Linked DNA regions of Homo sapiens: region 1 is linked to region 2. Evidence: promoter capture Hi-C in 16 types of primary human blood cells and fetal thymus (Javierre and others, 2016). All regions are on one chromosome and are shown on one strand. Each heading gives the region's core, a stretch centred on a gene start or on the middle of the fragment in contact. The rest is flanking DNA. Distances are from core to core; before and after follow the strand shown. Region 1 holds the start of HMGN3-AS1 (HMGN3 antisense RNA 1). Region 2 holds the start of HTR1B (5-hydroxytryptamine receptor 1B).

Region 1 (6,999 bases), core at 1,270-3,769, 1.8 Mb before region 2:
AGTTCATAAAGATGTTCCAAAAAAGAAAGTAATCAACCACCTCTGGAGAGTACTAGATCAATTAATGTATTCTGAAAATTACTAAAGAAAAAGTGAAATATTAAACTTCATTGCTTTTTTAATACATATTTAATACATGATATTTTTAATACATATTTGCAGCCTCTGTGTTACCAAAGTGGATTTGGCCATATTTGTAATGTAAGGCTTCAACACATTTTCCTATGATGTGAGCTTTGCCTGCTAAGATGATTCTGAAACTAACTTTGCCCAATTTTGCTTTTTCTATAATTTCATATGAATGCAATCATTCAGTGTGGTCTTTTGTATTTGACTTCTTTCGTACAGCACTTTGTTTTTGATATTCATCCATGTAGGAAAATTTTTTATTGTTTTTTATTGCTGAATAGTATTCCACTGCATGTGCTCATCACAATTTGCTTACCCATTCACTAGCGCTTTTCCTGCATCTGCTGAAAGGATTGTTTTTCCCCCTTTATTCTATTAATCCTGCCAATTACATTGATTGATTCTCAGATATTAAAAAAGCAGCTTTGCATTCCCAAGATAAGCCCCACAGGTCATGATGTATTGTCCCTTTAAATGTTGTTGAGTTTCATTTACTAAAATTTTGTTCACGACTTTTGTGTCTATGTTTATGAGTGATATTGGTCTGTAACTCTCTTTTGAAGTCTTTCACTGGTTTTGGTATCAGAGTAAATCTGGTCTCATAAAATGAATTCAGAAATATTTTTGCAATGCTCATTTTATGCCTTGCAGAACTTTGAGAAATATTACGCATAAAGTGTAACATGACGGGTGTCATTCAAATATATGTCTCAAATATAAAATAATCAGTTTTTGCCTTGTTCTTTCTTTTCCTAATTTCCGTAACAAACATGTCCTATTCGTCTTCACATCTAGTTTGAAGTTAGCTGAATTAGTGAGTGATTTATAATCACAGATTTCAGAAAATTAGAGCTAAGTGATTTTAGGGACTGTTGTCACTATATATCTAGGGGGGGAAACTGAGGCCTTTAGAAGTTGCCACGCTCTTCCAGTACAGAGTACCTTCCCACGCTTTACAGATTCCCACCATGTAACATTCATTAAAAGCCTTTATGGGTAGGAAATGAATAAGGTACCTGCTGTGTATATATTTACATTATAAAGTTTACGTATTCATTCTTACTCTTTTTCCTTCCTATGAAGACACACACTGTTCTTATTCTTACAATCTCAAAGAGAGAGCAGCGAAACAATGAAACTTCAGGATTGTGTGGCCTGGAGGCTACTAGTTGAACTGGGCATGCTCAGTCGCCAGGCAGATTTTTTTCGGTGAAGTGGAAACTACAACAGCGCGTACCGCGCGCGGAGGTGGGCGTGCCCTCGTGGAATTTAGAACGTTGCCTCAGCCAATGGGGCCTCGCGGCCGGCTGGCGGGGCTCCTCATTGGAGCAGCAGGGAGGCGAGCAGAGGGCCCCCAGAGGGAGCCGCGGAGGTGCAGGTCGAAGAGGCCGGGCTACGTCGTGCCCTGCGCGTGAGCAGCTGCAGAGGCAGAGGCAGCATCCAGCGGCGGCGCCAGCAGTTCCAGTCCGTTGCTTTACTTTTTGCTTCACCGACATAGTCATTATGCCGAAGAGAAAGGTAAGTCTTACCAAAAAAAGATTTCAAAAGCCTTCAAATTCTGCTTACAGTAAATGCTGGCATTGCAATGGCTCGCGCAGAACGCGCGCGGTAGTAACCCGGGGATTGGGAATCTTTGCTCCTCCACGCTTGTTTTTAGATGCCTGTTGCAGACGTTCCTCTCTCTGTCCCCCCTACCCACTCCGTCCTCATCGATCTCTTAATGTTACTTTCTCTCCAGTGACGCGGTTTCCCTTCTTTTTGAACTCATTCTCGCTGGAATGTTTTCCACCCCCAACAACAAGAAGCAAAAGCGGCTTTCCATTCCGAAAGGGAGTTTCCTCTTTGCAAACTGCCAGGTTGCGAATTAGTGTGAAGGGAAAACAGCGAGAGGAGAAAAACAAGTACAAGCGTAAGGAGAGGGAAGAAAATAAATCAGGCAAATGTTGGGATTATTCCCATGCGGCTGTACTCGCGGGCTGGGTGCGCTGCGGTGGCTCCTAGGCTAAGGGAAAGAGAAAGCCATGTTTAAAATAGCGCTCACCCTCCTGCTCGCCTCCGCTGCAGACCCGTATGTACCAACTCCAGTGTCAATCAGGGCTGGGGCCGGCGAGGCGGGGCCTGGCGGCCTGGACCTACCCGCAGTTCGGGGCGGGAGCGGTGGAGTTGGCAGCGTGGAAGACGGGACGGCGCCGGGGCGTCCAATATGGCTCGTCCAAGGTCAGGGGGCCACCAGGTCCTCCCCAGCGACTGGAACCCACACTCGGTTGGGGAAGGCGGGGTCCGCGCGCTATCCGCCCCTCTGCGCGTCTAGCGAACTGGAGTCATTTTTGTCTTGTCTTCCGCCCCTTGCGGACTGTCCTCTTCTGCGCAGGCCCCGGACACCAACTACTACATTCAGGGACACAAATCTCCCTCGGGGTGGGGCTTCGACTTGTCCCGGGGAGGGAAGGGAAAGGTTTCCTCCTCCCTGAGAAATCAGTGAGGATTTCTCAGCTGGTTCCTAAGCAAGTGCTTTGCACCCTCCCACCGCCAGCCTCAGTGTTTCCAACAGTGTCAACGAGTGTGGGTATTAAATTTGAAGCAAAATTACACCTAATGTCTTGCTTTATCAAAGACCATGGACTAATTTGTGTGTGAGAGTGACTGCATTATTTTAAAATACTGAAGTTTTAAAAATTCAAAAGCTTTCCCCTTCTTATATGTTATTACTAAAAATTGGGTAGAAACTTGTCTCCTACCCCACTTTTTAAAAATAATTGAAAGTGTTTAAAAGTCTTAGAGTTTGTTGTGCACATACTGTGTCCCTCACGCTGTGCAGAATTTGACTTGCATTATCTCATTTAATCCTGAAAACAGCTTGAGCGGTGTTACCCCCATTCAGCTGGGACTTAAAGACATAAATTGTCCTGCATCTCACCAACCAATAACTACTAGTAAAGATTTAATCAGATGCTATAGATGCCAAAGTCTTATTCTCACCCATTTCGTACTCACTTACGAAAGGGTGGGTCAAGAGGAATTAAGGAAATCCAAAGGTACTCCCAGTTTAAGAAGACAGATGGCATATTAAGAGCACTAATACTTGAGATTTATTATTTAAACTTAATTTTATGAAGGTATTTTCTAGCCCTGTTTTACTAGAATTAGGATATTAAGTGATGTCACCATTTTCAGCATTTTGACTGAGGGTTAATGATGGATTGGAAATTCTAGTAGAGACAAAGGAACTAATCATCAAGATACGGGTTACAGAGTAAGTGAGCTGGAGGCCATCTTTTTTTCCTGGGAATTATAACCATTGTTTACATAAACAGTAGGTTAGGTGTGCACACTTTATGTATAATGGACCCTGACGATGGAACCCTTCCTTGCTGTTTATTCAAGGGCCAGAGCTGCTGAAACCATTATTCTTACTTCCCCTGTCTGCCTCTCTCAAGGAGACGGAAGGAAAAAAAAAAAAAACTAAAATAACAGTAAAATTACAGCTACAGTTTTATTTCCCTGGAAGGCAGGGAACCCCCATGCATAAGCTAGCCAATGGTCCTGAGACTAGGGGCAAAACTGTGTACAGGCACCTGTGTGTCATTCCTGAGGACATCAGAGTGTTCTCCGGTGATGGAAAACCTCTCCTTGATTAATAGGAAGGCTTTCCATTTATACCTGAAGCCTAACGACCTCAGTTGGTACCTGGGCAGGAACAACCTCAGATTAAACACGGCGATCATGGCCATCCATCTATCAGTCAAGTCTTAGAGCAGCCTCATGGAATCCTGAAGTTCACTGGAACTTATGTGAGGAACCACTGTCATTAGGTAAAGCCTGCTTAGATACAAAAAAGAACTGGAGACAATCCATGCATAGCTCTTCAAGATCTTCAAAGCTGGGGTAACTGCCAAAGCATTTACATACTACACAATATTTTTCTTGACTAAAGAATTGTCTGCTCTACAATATAATAAGCTTTTAAAATGTCCCCCTAGTACTTTTTTGCCTTCTTAGCCCCCTGTATCAACCTTTCCTAGAAATCAAGAAATGTTATTTAATGAACATCTGAGTAAGTTGTTCTGCAGAGCAAGAAGTGGTACAGATAAAGTCAATGAAAACATCTGGAATCCTAGCCCTGTTGTAATGCTGTAGGGACATACAGTTTTTGCCCTCTTGGAACTTGTGTTTAATTCAATGAGGTGATAAGACTAGCAGCACAAAACAGTTGAATAACATTAAAACTGTGTATGTGTTCCAGAATGTGTAGTTATAGATCCCACAAGCAGTAGGACAGATAAGGAAAGTTAACTTTAGGCTGGTCTTAAAAGTGTGGGTAGGACTCAAATATACAAAGAAGTCAGAGTCATTTTTTGTTACCAGGTATTCAAGTGTGTCTCCTGATTGTATCTTAACATGACCAGGCCTCAGTTTTGCAACTTCAGGGCTATAATATCATCTGAATTAATATTAAAATGTTCTGATGACATTTCTTTGTAAGTTTTATGTGTATCTTTGTGTGTGATAGTCATAACTACATTAAGCCAAGTGGTTTTTTATAAATGCCATAGTATTTTGTGAAGTAATACAGCACTTAGTGAAGAGTTCTTCAGTGCATATTATCTCTAAGTTTGTGAGATGTAAATAAAAGTGAGTTTCCTGTATTTTTTAGATAATGGATGGTGGGTGAGTGGAATTACAGGGGAAATGATAACATTCATGGACTCAGTGGTGAGACAATGAGTGATTGAGTTCTAGACTGTTCTGGCCAGACATCCACAAATGCCCGCAGTGGTCATGTTGTTATGTGATGATTTGATGTTCTACGAAGAGACATGAGCCAGCGAGGCCTAGAGTCACAGTCCTGGCATGATTAGCGACAGGAAACACATTTTTACCTCTTTCTTTTTATTAATATTTTCCAGTTCCTTATCACTAGAACTATTTTAAATGTCTAGTGTATCACATCAGAAATTCTCTAATGAGGCAATTTTCCATGAATGTGGCATGTAAGCAGTCATGTCTCTTGACACTTAAAGGTTTAAGGAAGGAAAGCCCATCTGCCTCTAGCTTTGAAACTCAAAATTAGGTTTTTATCTGTTTCCTTAAAATGGAAGGCCCAGTAGCAGTAGCATTGGGCTTATTAGCACAGGGGATGCTTAACTAACCATGATCAAGGTTTGTGATAGTTAATTTTGAAAAGAATATTACTTGTCATAACACCAAAAACAGAAACTGTAAATGAAAACACAGATAAATTTGGCTACATGAAAATGAATATTTCAATATGGGAAAAAAAACTGTTAACAAAATTTTTAAATTTATGAAAAACTGGGAAAAAATATTTGTACCACATATCACTGAAAAAGGTTTGCTGTTTTAAAAAGATAGCATCTCACATTTCCTTATGGAAAAGATGTATATCTTTATAGGAAAATAATGAAGACTCAAGTAGACAGAAATGTTTGGTTTTACTAGAAATCAAAGAAATGTACAATATTAAGAATAATGAGATGTAATTTTTAAAATAACCAATCTGGTTTAAAAAAAGATTAAAAACCTACTGGCTAGTGCTGAGGGATATAGACACTCAGCACTCTCAGTTATGAGAGTATAATTTCCTTTAAAACATTTATTGAGTATAATCTACTTACTATAAAGTCCATTCATCCATTCGAAGTATACAATTCAGTGATTTTTAGTAAAGTATAGAGTTGCGCAACCATTGTCATAATCCAGTTTTGTAACATTTCCATCATTCCACAAAGGTCCCTCATGGAGTTTATAGCCAATCCCCACTCCCAGCCTAGCCCTAGGCACTAATCTACTTTTGCTGTATCTAGATTTGCCTTTTCTGGAAATTTTATTTAAAAGAAATGATACAATATGTAGTCTTTTGTGACTGATTTTTTCACTCAGCATGATGTTTTTGAGATCAGTTTGTGTTGTAGCATATATCAGTACATCATTCTTTTTTATTGTCCAGTAGTGTTCCATTGTATGGATATACTCATTTTTGTTTATCCTTTCACAAGGTGATGGACATTTGGATTGTTCCAGGTTTGGATTATTATCAATAATGCTGCTGTGAATATTTGTAAATAAGTGATTGCATGGACATATATTTTCATTTCTCTTGGGAAGATTTCTAAGAGTAGAACTGGCAGGTGGTATGAAAGTCTATGTTTATCATTTTTTTTTTTGGAGGCGGAGTCTGGCTCAGTCGCCCAGGCTGGAGGGCAGTAGCGCGATCTCAGCTCACTGCAAGCTCCGCCTCCCGGGTTCACACCATTCTCCTGCCTCAGTCTCCCGAGTAGCTGGGACTACAGGCGCCCGCCACTACGCCCGGCTAATTTTTTTGTATTTTTAGTATACACGGGGTTTCACCGTGTTAGCCAGGATGGTCTTGATCTCCTGACCTCGTGATCCGCCCGTCTCGGCCTCCCAAAGTGCTGGGATTACAGGTGTGAGCCACGGCGCCCGGCCGTCTATGTTTAACGTTTTAAGGAACCTCCAAACTGTTTTCCAAAGTGCATGCGTTCTAATTTCAACATACTTGTTCATACTTGGTATTGTTGATTTTTTGCTTATAGAGATTCTTATGAATTTTAATTTATATTTCTGTAATAACTACTGACAATAAGCATCTTTTCACGTGTTTACTAGCATAATGTGTATCATATGTGAAATGTCTATTCAGATATTTTGCCCATTTTTAATTGGGTTGTCTTATTATTGAAAGAGTTCTTTATAAGTCTGAGATACAAGTCCCTTATCAGATATATGATTCGTAGATATATTCTCCCAGTTTGTGACTTAAAAATATATTTTTTTCTTAATGGTGTCTTTTGAAGAACAAAAGTTTTTAATTTTGATGAAATCCATTTA
Region 2 (7,921 bases), core at 2,733-5,232:
CAAAGCAAAGATAAAATCAGGACTTTCTTTGCTCCTGGGCCTGGACCTCTTTCAATAGTTACTCTCTGGATGGAAGACTCTAGGGATGCTGAAAGCAAGACTCAGTCGCCGCAGGCAAGAGAGCTGGCTAGGGCTGACTAAGGTTAGCTGACTGCCAGCTTACATAGAGTTGAGTTGCAATAAATTCCGTGAGATATCTCTTGTGGTTGCTGTAGGCAGAGTATGCTTCCCTTGACAGTGTCCAGTCTGGTTAGCGCTGCGCTTTAAACTTCCCAGCCTGCGCCTCGAATTTGGTGCTGCAGCTGTAGAACTACATCTTCCTAGCATGGGAGAGGGTTCCTCGAGGATTCATTTTTCTTTGGTTCCTCCGCAGCCAGCTCACCGCTAGGATCTGGTTTTGTGTCGGTTCACTGACTTCATTTCAGTTCCAGAGTTATTCTCCACTTACTCAGCTTCTGCCAAACGTACACGTGCGTGGAATTGATAATAAGGGAACCACATTAATTCGCAGTTTTAGTGCCCGGTGTTCATACGGGAGCTTATTTCTACTCAACTAAGTTTTGCTGCGCTCAGGTAATCCATCTCCACCCTTTCCCTTCCGCTACTGATTCCCTCTCTGCTCCTCCCCTGTCAGGTGAATTTCCCCCAAAACTTGCCTGGAGGTTCCTTCTAGCGCCGCTGGGGACTGCAGAGCTGGCACTTGGACCTTACCCAGCGACCCCTACTCCGAAGGGGTGACCCAGGCACAGGCGACTTTACAGGGTCTCTTTCTCTCTTGGGTGTTTCACACACATGCGCCTCTGTGCAAACACCTATGTTTTATGTGTTTTAAAGTGAGAAAGGAATACTTGAAATGCGGAAGTCAGGTTAAGGAAATGGGGTTCTTCACTGAACTCTGCCAACATCCGGTCAATATGATGGCGGTGTGTGTTTAAGCAGCTCTTTACCAAAGAGGGTAAAATCAAACTGCCTACAAGGGGCGGATTCCTCTGGGAGTCTGGGACTCTGCGAAGCAGTGGAGGCATGGCTGGAGAAAGCCACAGGTCCCCAAACCGCTAAAGCCAAAAACCGTGTGGGGAACAAATTTTGCTTTGTTTTTTCTCCGTCCCATGCTCCCGAGCAGAAATTAAAAGAGGAAAGGTCGCATGGAGCTGGTTACATTCCTGTCGGCCTTCCCCCGCTTCCCATCCCTTTAACACTTGTCTCTAATCGTTTCCAGTTCTCCTAGGATAACGGGAAAATTGTTTCCTGGCACCCCGCACTCCCACAGGACACACCCGCAATCGCACACACTTTTGATCCGTCCTGGCCAATGCCCCCACCTAGCGGTTTAAACTCGCCGGCTTTGCTTCCCTCTTCTATGGTTTCTAAGTGAGCGCTGCAGTTGACAAAAATAATTGTTTATCTAGGTGGATGGGGTGGGAGAATGGGAAGGATCCCTTAAAATGTGGTGAAAATGAGGCTTAAGGTTGGTGGCAAAATGCTAGGTGCTAGGACTGGAGGAGAAAAAGAGAGAAGGCTGTGCTTTTATCCTCAGGGTGGCTGCTGCAGCCCAGACCGCATCTAGAGGACGTCCTTGAAGAGCTGCCACCTTAGTTAAAGGAGTACCCTCACTCTCAATGCATGCATGTGTGTATGTGTGTTTTTCTTCAAAACACTTAACACTACAGAAAAGTATAAGTATTAATTATTTACTTGTTCATGTAGTTATTGTCTGTCTCTTCTAGAATGTAAACTGCTGGAAAAGAGGGTCTGAGTCTACTCCCACTGGCCTCCATACCTCGGATGCCTAGAAAAATACTCAGCATAGAGTAGGCACTCTATTTTTTGCCTGCTTGCCTGGTTTAGAGAACCGGGAATTAAGGGAACTTGGGTTTGTGCTTTATTGCCTTGGGTAAAAAGCTCTTCTTTCAAAGGATCTCAATTACTCTTCCTCTAAAACTGGGTGGAGGGATCAGATCAGATAGCCTTAGGTTCTGACACAGAATGATTCTCTTTAAAATATATGTGCGCTTAAACAGATGAATTCATTTACAATGCAGTTTTTATTAGATACACTCTAGGTGCCAAACATGGATCTAGGCTCTAGGAATTCGTAGTGGGGATCATTTAATCCTTCGAGCTGAAAATACCTTGTCCTTTCCTGGAGCTTTTCTTCATACTTTCTGATTTGCATCTCTACCCTACATTTGTTTCTGTTGAGGTCAGAGGAGAAACTGAGGACAGGGGATCCGTCCCTGGTCATGAGACCTAGGTACTGGTATTGCATGCTGCAGCTTATGGCTGACATTCCCACATATTAGTTGAAGGCAAAGGAGACACACAAGATGGTGCTGATGATGGTTCCAGTCCTCCCCGCCCCACCATCCCCCTTTTTTCTTGAATTCTGATGACCTCCTTTCTAGGTAGGCTGTTGGAAGGAACACGCTTACTGGCAACTGTTTTCCAGAGGCACTGAAGCACTGAGCAGCTGGAAGAGGATGGTGGAGCAGAAGGTTTAATTTCACATACAGTTGGCTTCTGTTTGTGATAACTTTTACATTTTCGCAGATAGCTTGTCTTTTTCCCTGTTGACTCATAGTTGAGTGAAAAACACAAATTTCTAAAACTAGATGAAAAAATAGTTTTTATTGTATCAAGAGTTAAGGACGGCAAAGTACAAAATGCAAACATTGGGCCCTCTACAGCGATATTACTGGTGCCTCCTAACCTGGGTGTGGCCATCAGGGCTGGATATGATTTTAGAGCGGAGAGGTCAGAGACCAGGGCTTCCCCGCCTAACACTGGCCTCCTAGGGTGGGAGTGGTAGGCAGGAGCCTAGGGCCAGACTGCTGGACTAAACCTGTGACCATGGCTAAGGACATGGGTCTCACTGGAGGTCAGCGCAGCAAGCTCTGATGTCCGTAGAGGCGAGAACAGGACGCCTTCTTCCCCTGACCAGAAATGCAGCTCCAGGTTGTCAGGGCTGGGAGGATGGCCCAGGGTGGGAAGCGGGGAGATAGGGCGGTAGGACCCGGCGGGAGCTTCCTTGGCCAGGAAAGGAACAGGGCGGGGGGAAAAGAGGGAGGGAGAGAGAAAAAGGGAAGGTGATGGGGAGCGGGCGTCCGCACCCGCCGCGCCGCACGAGTTGCACTGCTCTGGCGGACCGGACCTGGACTCTATATAAAGAGCCCATCTGCTCCGTAGCTCGCACGCTTCTCCCGGGCTGGTGCACGCCGCGTCCCTCCAGCTCCCCCAGACACCTGCCCCTTCCCAGTGTGCCGCGCCAGGTCCTCCAGACCCGCGCACCCAGTGGCATGGCTCCGAGTGGCTCCCGTGGGACCAGGGTGGCGGTGGCGGCGGCGCGGCCCGAGCAGCCGCAACTCCAGCCCCCGTGTCCCCCCTTTTATGGCTCCGTCTCCGCGGGGCAGCTCGTCCGAGTGGCCAGAGAGTGAAAAGAGAGGGAGGGCAGAGCTCCGGCGCGAGGCGCGGCGCAGCGCTGCTCCTAGACTTCACCCCACCCAGCTCTGGCGGCCGCTGCAGCCCCCCAAAAGTGCCCCAGCTTGGGGCGAGGGGTGGGAATGCAAGATCTCGGGACCTCTCGCTGGCCTGCAAGCTTTGGTCTCTACACCTAGGAAACTCCTGTGGGCAAAGTCTGCAGATCCAAAAGCGTCCAGGTTAGGAGACGCTCAGCCTCAAGCAACTGGGGTAAGAGATCCCATTTGGTCAAAGCCTTCTCCTCAAGCAGTACTTCACCCTCCTGCACTAGACGCCTCCAGGGAGCTGGAGCGGAGCAGGGCTCGGTGGGCCAGCTCTTAGCAACCCAGGTCTAAGACCCGGTGTGGAGAGGAACAACCACAGACGCGGCGGCTTAGCTAGGCGCTCTGGAAGTGCAGGGGAGGCGCCCGCCTGCCTTGGCTGCCGCACCCATGACCTCTAGTTTCAGCTGTGAACCTGGGCGGAGGAATAATTGAGGAACTCACGGAACTATCAACTGGGGACAAACCTGCGATCGCCACGGTCCTTCCGCCCTCTCCTTCGTCCGCTCCATGCCCAAGAGCTGCGCTCCGGAGCTGGGGCGAGGAGAGCCATGGAGGAACCGGGTGCTCAGTGCGCTCCACCGCCGCCCGCGGGCTCCGAGACCTGGGTTCCTCAAGCCAACTTATCCTCTGCTCCCTCCCAAAACTGCAGCGCCAAGGACTACATTTACCAGGACTCCATCTCCCTACCCTGGAAAGTACTGCTGGTTATGCTATTGGCGCTCATCACCTTGGCCACCACGCTCTCCAATGCCTTTGTGATTGCCACAGTGTACCGGACCCGGAAACTGCACACCCCGGCTAACTACCTGATCGCCTCTCTGGCGGTCACCGACCTGCTTGTGTCCATCCTGGTGATGCCCATCAGCACCATGTACACTGTCACCGGCCGCTGGACACTGGGCCAGGTGGTCTGTGACTTCTGGCTGTCGTCGGACATCACTTGTTGCACTGCCTCCATCCTGCACCTCTGTGTCATCGCCCTGGACCGCTACTGGGCCATCACGGACGCCGTGGAGTACTCAGCTAAAAGGACTCCCAAGAGGGCGGCGGTCATGATCGCGCTGGTGTGGGTCTTCTCCATCTCTATCTCGCTGCCGCCCTTCTTCTGGCGTCAGGCTAAGGCCGAAGAGGAGGTGTCGGAATGCGTGGTGAACACCGACCACATCCTCTACACGGTCTACTCCACGGTGGGTGCTTTCTACTTCCCCACCCTGCTCCTCATCGCCCTCTATGGCCGCATCTACGTAGAAGCCCGCTCCCGGATTTTGAAACAGACGCCCAACAGGACCGGCAAGCGCTTGACCCGAGCCCAGCTGATAACCGACTCCCCCGGGTCCACGTCCTCGGTCACCTCTATTAACTCGCGGGTTCCCGACGTGCCCAGCGAATCCGGATCTCCTGTGTATGTGAACCAAGTCAAAGTGCGAGTCTCCGACGCCCTGCTGGAAAAGAAGAAACTCATGGCCGCTAGGGAGCGCAAAGCCACCAAGACCCTAGGGATCATTTTGGGAGCCTTTATTGTGTGTTGGCTACCCTTCTTCATCATCTCCCTAGTGATGCCTATCTGCAAAGATGCCTGCTGGTTCCACCTAGCCATCTTTGACTTCTTCACATGGCTGGGCTATCTCAACTCCCTCATCAACCCCATAATCTATACCATGTCCAATGAGGACTTTAAACAAGCATTCCATAAACTGATACGTTTTAAGTGCACAAGTTGACTTGCCGTTTGCAGTGGGGTCGCCTAAGCGACCTTTGGGGACCAAGTTGTGTCTGGTTCCACAGGTAGGTCGAATCTTCTTTCGCGGTTTCTGGGTCCCAGCGAGGCTCTCTCTCCTGGGCAAGGGCAATGGATCCTGAGAAGCCAGAATAGTCCTGAGAGAGAGCTCTGAAAGGAGAAGTGTTGAAACTAAATGTAGAGCTTCCCTGCCCAGGAGGAGGCTCACTTCCTCCCCTCAAGCCCCGGGCTCAGCACTGACCCTGCGGCAGCCAATCCCAAAGGGGGTTGCAACTTTTAAAAATTGATAATGGAAGGGAATCCCTGCCCTGCTTTGGTATCGTGGATAATGCCCACTAGAAGCAGTGTACTTGTAATTGTTGTCTGAAGCCTGTCTGAGACAGATCTACATACAGCCTGGCAGTACTTGAACTAGACGCTTAATGCCCTGTGTTTTTGGGGGGAGAACTTTGTGTTACAGCTTAATTTAAGAACAGTTACTTTGGCATCATTCAGTCTTCACTTTTTGTCTATTTAAACTTGGTTGGAGAAACTTGTGGATTTGGTGCTTCAAACCCTATGTGTGGCTTGGATGGCGCAGAGAAACCTTGAAGAGTTAACAGCAAAATTCTGATGCTGAGATCTCTATTTTTATTATACTTGAAACTATATGGGGGTGGGTGGGTGGGAATGGGAGATGAGGAGTGTTAAACTGAGAATCAACACCTATGATTGTTTGTTTTCTGCAGATTTACAATTTTGTAATTCCTGTTTAGCGATTGTCAAGCCACAACTCTAACAAACAAACCATTATGTGTGCTAGTGCCGAAGTCTGCAGACTGCTTTATTTTTTCTCTTAATTTCATGTACCTGTCACTTTACACATTTAAATCCCCATAAATGAAGGGTATGATGGGTGACTCAGCCCACACTGCTGCTATATTTCTTACTAATGCAATTGGTAAAACCGATTAGTATTGGAAATATACTGTTTCTTAACAAGAAAAGTGTCTTTATTTCTTATCCAATTTAGTGAGATGTGAAGGAGACTGATGACATGGGGATAGTTCTTACACAATTGAGGAATGGGGTGGGGGCAATAGGAGGATGTATATTTTGACTTGTAAAAAAATCTTAAAATGCATGAAACTTTTATCTGATAGTCATTTGCACTCTCCTTCCCATCTGTGATTCCTTGTGTGCTAACATATAAAGAAACCAAGAGAACTATCTTCCTTCTCCAGAAACCTTAAAAATACAGTTAAGGGCCCTAAAAACGATATTGAAAAGAAAATAAACTTGTTTCTTTTTTGTTGTTGTTGTTATTGAAGTTTGGGCAGGAGAAAAGATTGCTAGAAAATGACATATAAGAACTTTAGAAAAGCTTAGAGAAACTAAAATTGAGCCTGTTTTTGTCTTGTTTTTTGTTTGTTTAAAAAAGAAAAAATTGCAGAACCAAACCTCAGACTTACTAACAATCAGGAAACTGGCAAGCTTTTGACCTTTGTAAATTTGTTACCAACCTGATATCTCAATTAATATAATATCTGGAATACTTTAAATTTATCAGTCTTTTCAAATTTCAAGAATACTTAGTTATTTCAAATTTCCTCTGAGAGCTCCCTAATACAGGATAAAGTCATGAAATAAAATATGAAAAAAATGTATATTTTAATAAGAAGTAGCCCTGAGGGATTATCTGCACGGAAAAAAATGTATATGTACAGCATTTAACATGCCAAAGAAAATTCACACTCCTTTCCTCAGAGGGCATTCTGCAGTTGATACCTTTTGTCTGCAGAAGCAAGTTGTCTTTGTGAAATGGATTCACTCCTTGCTTGAAACTCCCCAGTCCTGTTTGTCAGACAATAAATACATTGAGCTGAAGTACACTGCTTGCCTACTGTGCAGACCTTCACCTTGAGTAATCACTCTTGAAAATATACTATTCAAAGATTCACACATAAGCTAACTAAAAAGGGGAGTTTTGATCAATATTTATACCTGTCACTGGTGTGAGAGAAAATTTTAGGCATTAGATTTGCCTATACTTCTGCTGGATCCCAAGTTTCTTTGTTTGCTTTTTGTGATATTTCTCCTATGGAGGAATGTGCATAGAGCGTGGTGTTTGTTTTTATGTTATTAATACTGTGGTCTTCTGTTTATACAGTTGTATTTTCTTTGGTCCTAAGAGGCAATTAAGTCAACTTCTAAGAGCCTTAGGGGGAAACATTAATTGAAACAAATAGCCACTTTCAAATGATTTCTTTATAGGGTACCTGCAATGATGGTGTCCTCACATTAACAAAACACAATCAGTTTAGTCGAATGGGTTGTTTGCCATTTTGTAGATTAACCACCTAAATTATTGCTTGACTATTTGGCTGTATTGCCTGGATTTGGGGCATATTGTATGAAATAGAAGCTTGCAAACCCTTATAGTTATAAGAGATATAGAATCATCATTCAGCATTGCACATGATTATGCAAAGTGTAGTATTCATCCCAGGGGTATGTAGTTAAGACTGTTAAGCTCCTTTTCAGTTACTGTTGCCTATAGCATAGTTTATTTCATAAACTAGGCACATGGCTTTTTTGCAGAACATGAAGCGGGAGATGGAAATGTTTAACTTACATAGCAATGGAAATATATTTTCATTGGCTGTGGTAATAAACAACATTT

The links. Contacts are between HindIII fragments. The CHiCAGO score rates a contact against its expected background, and 5 or more counts as called.
Region 1: the fragment with the promoter of HMGN3-AS1 here is called in contact with the fragment with the promoter of HTR1B in region 2 in 1 of 17 cell types (endothelial precursors); the score reaches 6.1 in endothelial precursors.

The regions. Positions count from the first base shown.
Region 1 is chr6:79,229,194-79,236,192 of GRCh38, reverse strand. It overlaps HMGN3-AS1 (HMGN3 antisense RNA 1), which reads right to left and starts at 2,519. Exons shown (of 2, transcript NR_040671.1): 1 at 2,266-2,519; 2 at 1-2,131. HMGN3 (high mobility group nucleosomal binding domain 3) reads left to right here and starts at 1,511. Exons shown (of 7, transcript NM_001201363.2): 1 at 1,511-1,647. The coding sequence starts at 1,633. RefSeq lists enhancers at 1,393-2,182, 2,183-2,973, 5,991-6,491 and a silencer at 2,186-2,235. The HindIII fragment of the contact is 3,424 bases long and covers 1-2,815 here.
Region 2 is chr6:77,459,552-77,467,472 of GRCh38, reverse strand. HTR1B (5-hydroxytryptamine receptor 1B) reads left to right here and starts at 3,982. Exons shown (of 1, transcript NM_000863.3): 1 at 3,982-6,549. The coding sequence starts at 4,070. The coding sequence ends at 5,242. The region is part of intron 5 of LOC105377864; the gene reads right to left. RefSeq lists enhancers at 933-992, 1,203-1,252 and a silencer at 4,972-5,116. The HindIII fragment of the contact is 3,027 bases long and covers 3,598-6,624 here.